Regions from separate parts of the Homo sapiens genome. Here region 1 is linked to region 2. Evidence: promoter capture Hi-C in human tissues and cell types (Jung and others, 2019). All regions are on one chromosome and are shown on one strand. Each heading gives the region's core, a stretch centred on a gene start or on the middle of the fragment in contact. The rest is flanking DNA. Distances are from core to core; before and after follow the strand shown.

Region 1 (3,557 bases), core at 690-3,189, 1.7 Mb before region 2:
TTGAGACAAGGTCTTATTCTGTCACCCAGGCTGGAGTGCAGTGGCACAATCTCAGCTTACTGCAACTTCCATCTCCCAGGTTCAAGTGATCCTCCCACCTCAGCATCCTGAGTAGCTGGGACTACAGGCATGAGCCACCATGCTTAGCTAATTTTTTGATTTTTTGGTAGAGATGGCATCTCACTATGTTTCCCAGGCTGGTCTCGAACTCTTGGGCTCCGGCGATCCACCCACCTTGGCCTCCCAAAATGTCGGGATTACAGGCGTGCCAGCCACCAAAAAAGCGAGAGGATAGCCTGAGCTCAGGAGTTCAAGACCAGCCTGGGAAACATAGTGAGACGTCATCTCCATTATTTAAAAAAAAAAAATGTAGAATGCCTAGAACAGCACCTGGCAGAAAGTATGTTCCCCGTAAGCATAGCTATTACAATAATAGTGATTTTTTTTTTTTTTTTTTTTTGCTATAGGATCTTGTTCTGTTGTCTAGGCTGGAGTACAGTGGTGCAATCAATAGCTCACTGCAGTCTCAAACTCCAACACTCCAGCAATCCACCCTCCACAGCCTCCTGAGTACCTGGGACTACAGGTGCACACCACCACATCCAGCTAATTTTTAAATTTTTTCTTTGTAGAGAAGGGGTCTTGCTATGATGTCCAGGCTGGTCTTGAACTTCTGGCCTCCAAGGGATCCGCCTACCTCTGCCTCACGAGTCACTGTGCCTGGCCTAATAATGCTTGTTAATACCCCCACTCAACAGATGAGGAAACTGTCCCTTAGGCCTCAGTCCCTTAGGGAACTTGCAGGCTTATGGGTAGTGAGGCCCCGCTGGCCTGGGGTGGGTGGAGTCAGGGCCTCCCCAGGCCGGGTGTTGAGTGTGCGTGTGTGCCTTTGCGTGTGTAAGCACATTGGTGATTCCATTGTCCTCCTGACTGACTCTTACGACCAAGTCTCTTACGATTTGGTGATTCTCTGCGCAAACACTCAGACCCCATCCCACCCCTGTGGGTCGCCCAGCCGCTGCCCACAAGCCGCAGCCTCCCCGTCACACCCACACGTGCTTCCTCCTCACCCGCCAGGGCCTCCCCACAGGCTCTCCTTCCCAAACTTTCTCCTTCCTGCCCCACATGGACGCCTGTGGCTGGGTGGTCTCTGGCTGTAGCCACCCTGTCCCTGACTCAGGCCCCATGCCCCCTCACTGACCCCTGTGTGCCCGGCCCAACCCCCGCAGCCAGACGGCCACTCGGGGGTGTTGCGGGGGGTCACAGCAGGCCACGTGCCCGGGGTGGCTGAATTCCGCCTGTGATTCAGTCAGCTTGTCTAGGCTGCCGGGGGTGCCCTGGCCGGGTGATGTCAGCGGCCAGGTATGTGGCTGGGGTTTCTCCCAGGGTGACTCAGGCTCCTGAACTACCCTCTCCCTCCTGCAGACACTCTGGGCTGCTGTCCAGGGCAGGCAGCCGGCTGGCTGCCTGACACTCCCTTCCCTGGCCCCCTCCACGCCCTCTTCAGCACAGAGCTGTGGGAACAGCAGGGCTGGGGGACTGGCACAAGAGGGATCCCAGAGGCCAGGGCCCCAGCCCAGCCTTCCCCTAAGACCAGGACTCACAAGTGGTTGTAGGATGACATTCATTCGTTCATTCAATCAGCCATTCAAATATTTAATCAGCACACCTACACACACACACACACACACACACACACACACACACACACTGCAGTCACACACTCTAGGTGCTGGGGACAGAGCAGGAAACAAGACAGACAAAAATAAAAATTTCCTCAAATGGCCAGACATGGTGGCTCACTCCTGTAAACCCAGCACTTTGGGAAGCCAAGGCAGGAGGATTGCTTGAGCCCAGAAGTTTGAGACCAGCCTGGGCAACAGAGTGAGACCCCATCTCTACAAAAAAATAAGCCTGTAGCCCCAGCTACTCAGGAGGCTGAGGCAAGAGGATCACTTAAGCCCAGGAGGTCAAGGCTGCAGTGGGTTGTCATCATGCCACTGTGCTCCAGCCTGTATGACAGAGCCAGAGCCAGACCCTATCTAAAAAAAAAAAAAAAATTAGCTGGGCGTAGTGGTGGGCACCTGTTATCCCAGCCACTTGGGAGCCTGAGGCAGGAGAATCGCTTGAACCCGGGAGGCGGAGGTTGCAGTGAGCCGAGATCGTGCCACTGCACTCCAGCCAGGAAAGAGAGTGAGACTCTGTCTCAAAAAAAAAAGAAAAAAGAAAGAAAGAAAATTCCTCACAAAGCCTTTATCAGTATCTGCACCTAGTGCATTATTATTATTATTATTATTGTTTTTGACACAAAGTCTCACTCTGTCGCCCAGGCTGGAGTGCAGTGGCATGATCTCGGTTCACTGCAACCCACACCTCCCGGGTTCAAGTTATTCTCCTGCCTCAACCTCCCGAGTAGCTGGAATTACAGGCACACACCACCAAGCCTGGTTAATTTTTTTTGTATTTTTAGTAAAGACAGGGTTTTGCCATGCTGGCCAGGCTGGTCTCGAACTCCAGACCTCAGGTGATCCACCCTTCTCGGCCTCCCAAAGTGCTGGGATTACAGGTGTGAGCCACCGTGCCTGGCCTATTGTTATTGCTATTATTGCCCCCCTCCAAATTCCACTAGCCTGTGAAACTCAGGCTGGTTTCTCTTCCTCCAGGCAGCTCTCCAAACAGCTCATGTTTTTCTTTCTTTTTTTTTTTTTGAGAGGGAGTCTTGCTCTGTCACCAGGCTGGAGTGCAGTGGCGCAATTTCGGCTCACTGCAACCCCCGCCTCCCGAGTTCAAGTGATTCTCCTGCCTCTGCCTCCTGAGTATCTGGGACTACAGGCACGCGCCACCACGCCCACCTAATTTTTGTATTTTTAGTAGAGATGGGGTTTCACCAGGTTGACCAGGATGATCTTGATCTCTTGACCTTGCGATCTGCCTGCCTCGGCCTCCCAAAGTGCTGGGATTACAGGTGTAGGCCACCAGGCCCAGCAAAACAGTTCATTTCTTATAGTTCCCAGCCCCAAAATAGTCCTAGGAGGAAGTCCTTTCTGGAGTCTGACCCTCAGTCTGCCTGCTTCAAATGCGCTCTTTCATCCCTCTTTCACTTCCCACTTTCCCAGTCCCATGGAGTGATTTGAACCTCAATTCCATCCCGTCCCAACTTCACCCTTCATTTACCTTTCCTGAAACCAGACCACGGCTGGGCCTTGTAGCCATTGGGGTGTTCCAGATGCAGCTTCATTGAGTCCCAACTGGCCCTGGAGAAGGTCTGGAACATGCCCATGGTATAGGAAGGAAAGTGAGACTCAGGGCATTTGGGTACCCAGTAACACAGGACTACAGAGCTAAAGCCTGCATCTGCAACCCAGATTCTAGACACGCACACGCACATCCAAGGACACACACAGAGGAAGTAATAATACTGACAACAATCAAAACAGGTATTTTGTAAATGTTTGTTTTCTGCCAGGCATTTTCTAAATGCTTTCCATATGAACTCATTTACTCTCCCACAACAGTCCCATAAACTGGGTCTATTATTCTCCCTATTTGACAGATGA
Region 2 (3,886 bases), core at 1,151-3,650:
TTGCTCTGGAGTGAGACAGGCTTGGGTTTGAATCCAGGCCCGGGTTTGAATCCAGGCCCTGCTGCTTCCTGCCTATGGGGACTTCGGTAAGGCCCTTCTCTCTTCCAGGCTCATTTGTCTACATCTGTTTTTTTTTTTTTTTTTTTTTTTTTTTGAGACAGAGCCTTACTCTGTCACCCAGGCTGGAGTGCAGTGGTGCGATATCAGCTCACTGCAACCTCCACCTCCTGGGTTCAAGTGATTCTCGTGCCTCGGCCTCCCGAGCAGCTGGCATTACAGGCGCATGCCACCACACCCGGCTAATTTTTGTACTTTTAGTAGAGATGGGGTTTCGCTATGTTGGCCAGGCTGGTCTTGAACTCCTGACCTCAGGTGATCTGCCTGCCTCGGCCTCCCAAAGTGCTGAGATTACAAGCGTGAGTCACTGCGCGGACCAACATCTGTTAAACAAATTAGGGGAGAAGATTATAGTGATGTATATAAAGCAGAGAGCACACAGCCTGGTACACAGTGGGTCCAAGGTCAATGCCAGGCCTCCTCTTTCCCTCTTTTAAGAAAATTCTACCTCTGAGGGTTGCCCTGACGTGAAACTGGCAATCGTGAGTGATCTGGGGTTGAGAAATTCAGATATGGCCTGAGCTGAAGAAGTAAAATTGGACACTGATAGACATAATACAGAGATGGCCTGTCATGTGTATCTTTATCAAACACCCAGAATCTTTCCCCAGAATCCATCAACAGTGGACTCAAGTCATTCTGGGTGACTGGTGTTTCTACCTGTGGCAGCCTGGAGAGGTGGCTCCACCTGGTACTGGTACTGGGACAATGACAGTAGGGATGAGGCCTGGAGGGGAGAGGGCTGCTCAGAATCTACAACTATCAGCATGGTAGACCACAAAATAATACACAGAGACAACACACAGTACCATTAGGCAACAGGCACTGTTCTATGCACTCTCACCCATTTAATGCTGGCGGCAATGTTGTAAGTAAGGTTATACCACACCCAATTCACAAACAGGGACGTAGAAGTAGAGAGTATTAAGTCACTTGGTCAAGCTCAGCCGCTATTTATATGAACTCAACACATGCTCTTAACTCCAATGCTTTATTATAACAGCAGCTCCAGAAGGAAACCGGGAACCAGTGCTTTAGGAAAGGAAAATGGGAACCAGAGGTGGAAACTTACTTTTATTGTATACAGCCAGAGAGGTTTGAATTGTGTATGTACATGTAATACCTGTTCAAATATAATTTTAAAAAACTTTTTTTTAGACCAGCCACGGTGGCTCACGCCTGTCATCCTAGCACTTTAGGAGGCCGAGGCGGGCGGATCACTTGAGGTCAGGAGTTCGAGACCAGCCTGGCCAACATGGCAAAACCCAGTCTCTACTAAAAATACAAAAAATTAGCCAGGCGTGGTGGACGCCTGTAATCCCAGCTATTTGGGAGGCTGAGGCAGGAGAATCGCTTGAATTTCAGGAGGTGGAGACGGCAGTGATCCGAGATCTCGCCACTGCACGCCAGCCTGGGTGACAGGGCGAGACTCCGTCTCTAAATAAATAAATAAAATAAAAATAAATAAAATTTCAAATAAAAAGCTAGAACCTTCCCATCCACCCACTCTGCCCACTGGGGAACTGCCGACCCTTCCGAATGCGCATGCGCTCTCCAGGCCGCGCCCGTCGCCCAATGTTCCTCTTTGGCGCGCGCAAGACTCCGCCCACGTGTGTTTAAATTTTCGACCCTGGAGCGGATTCCCTTCTCCAACGCGGCCTTCGAGGGTTTTAAACATAGTTCTGTCTCAGACTATTCTGCATCTCCCAGGCCTTAAGGATAAAACTGACACTGGAGACCCTTCAGGGTCTGACCTGCCCATTCTGCTGCCTCACCTCCCACCCAGGTGGACCCTGAATCCAAGCCAGTCTAGACCTCTTCCCCCGGGGTCTTCGCCGCCTTTGCTTAGCTGTTCCCTGGAGTACCCTCGCCTGCCTGTCCTTCAAGGTCCAACCGGACCCGCGCCCTTTCCTAAGTGATTTGAGGCCCTGGCAGTCTCTCCACAGGCCGGGGTGTCTTCCAGGGCGCACGCCAAGTCTGATTCATTCATGTGTTCTTGGCACTCAGCCCAGAACAGTGAAATTCCTCCCTGTCGTCCCACCCCACTGCATCCCGCCAACATCACCGAAGAGGCACAACTCGAACCCCAGATCCGGGCCGCTCTCCCTCCTGCCGGCTCCTCGGCGTATCCATTTCCCTACTCATCTCCCCACCCTCAACCCCCCAACCGCGCGCACGCGCATTGAGTCAGAGCCGCGGCGTCCTCCCGCCTCCCGCTCCGGAACCCGCATGCGTGCTGAAGCCGACCGCCTCCATCCACGCACGCTCAGCCCGGCGAGCGCATTCAGTTCTCGAGCTCCAGCCCTCAGCGCATGCGCAGGACGAGTCGCCTGAGGGAACTGATCTCAGCTCGGGCCCGCGTTACATCCTCCTCCTCTTCTTCCTTCGGCCCAGCTTTCCTTAGGGGCTGCAACCCGGACGCCGAGGCCGGTTTCGGAGTGGGGAGTGCCCATTTTCTCTCCTTCCCACGTTCCTGGCCCCCAGACGCCATTTGCAGGCGGGTGGCTTGGGTCAGCCTCCCCGCCCCCACCCGACTCCCGTCACGGGAGAGCGCACACCGCGCCCCGAGAACCAATCAGCAGCCGCGTTAGGTAAGGGGGCCGCGAGCCCGCGCGAGGCTAGCGCACCGGCGGCGGGCGGGGCGCTCCGGCAGGCCCCGCCCCCGCCTTGGCCATTGAAAGGTCGCTGGGACGTCCGGCGGGGGTGCGGCACTGAGTAGGGGGCCGGCGACCGTCAATTCGATACTGGGTTGGCAGGAATGGGGGCGGGGGACGGAAATAACGTGTAAATGAGAAACTTATGCTCTGCGAGATCCAAGTACAGCCTGCAAACTGCCCGTCAAGTACTGGGGAGGCCGCCCCAATAACGTGTAACGAGAAACTTGAGTTGGGTTCCCCGAGGGAAGCTTTGTAAAGCAATGCCTAAATCCGGGGGAGGCTCCCTTCTAGAACCCCGTAGAGAGAAGTTTAAATCCTAGGGAGTCCTTAGGAAAATGTGCAAATCGACTACAGTTCTGGGCTGGGGAGTGCCCCACGAAGTGGGCTTACATACTCAGGAATCGGGAGAGTCTCCCCAAATATTTGCAAATAGTGAGGTTCTGGGAGATCCCCGAAGGGAGTGTGTGAAGCGATGCCTAAATACTGAGGAGACACTCCCCAAAAATATGTAAATTCGATTTGTTAATTTTCGGGAAGTCACCCTAGAAGTCCATCAGCAGACACTTAAATAGACCAGCTTTCCTAAGTTTGGGGGTAATCCCCAAAGGAGCCCGGAAACAGCATTGGAAGTCCCCAGCTTGCATGTGGGTGGGGTTTTTTTTTTTTTTCTTTGAGACAAGAGTCTCGCTCTGTCGCCCAGGCTGGAGTGCAGTGGCACGATCTCGGCTCACTGTATCCTCCACACCTGGTTTAGGTGGGCTTTTAAGTTCCAAGGAACTCCCCACATTCAGATACTGTGGAAGCTCCCAGAATAAAGGGCACAGGGAGGCCAGGTGCGGTGGCTTACCCGGGGAATCCGATCACTTTGGGAGACCGAGGCTGGCGAATCACTTGAGGCCAGGAGTTCGATACCAGCCTGGCCAACATGGCGAAACCCCGTCTCTACTGAAAATGCAAAACTTAGCCCGGCCTGGTGGTATGCACCTGTAATCCCACCTACTTGGGAGGCTGAGGCAGGAGAATTGCCTGAACCCGGGAGGCAGAGGCCGCAGCCAGCTGAGATCGTGCCACTGCACTCCAGCCTGGGCAACAGAGCAAGACCGTCTCAAAAA

The links. Contacts are between HindIII fragments. The study calls those that stand out against the background at their distance.
Region 1: a fragment that was not itself captured here is called in contact with the fragment with the promoter of SMG9 in region 2 in 1 of the 25 tissues and cell types used here (pancreas).

Annotation. Positions count from the first base shown.
Region 1 is chr19:45,453,732-45,457,288 of GRCh38, reverse strand. No RefSeq gene overlaps it. Among named protein-coding and RNA genes, the nearest start is that of FOSB, 12 kb to the left of the region's middle. RefSeq lists enhancers at 508-1,474, 1,463-1,712, 1,475-2,441, 2,749-2,808. The HindIII fragment of the contact is 7,912 bases long and covers 1-3,557 here.
Region 2 is chr19:43,753,476-43,757,361 of GRCh38, reverse strand. SMG9 (SMG9 nonsense mediated mRNA decay factor) reads left to right here and starts at 2,400. Exons shown (of 14, transcript NM_019108.4): 1 at 2,400-2,708. RefSeq lists a silencer at 2,620-2,979 and an enhancer at 3,210-3,469. The HindIII fragment of the contact is 11,288 bases long and covers 1-3,886 here.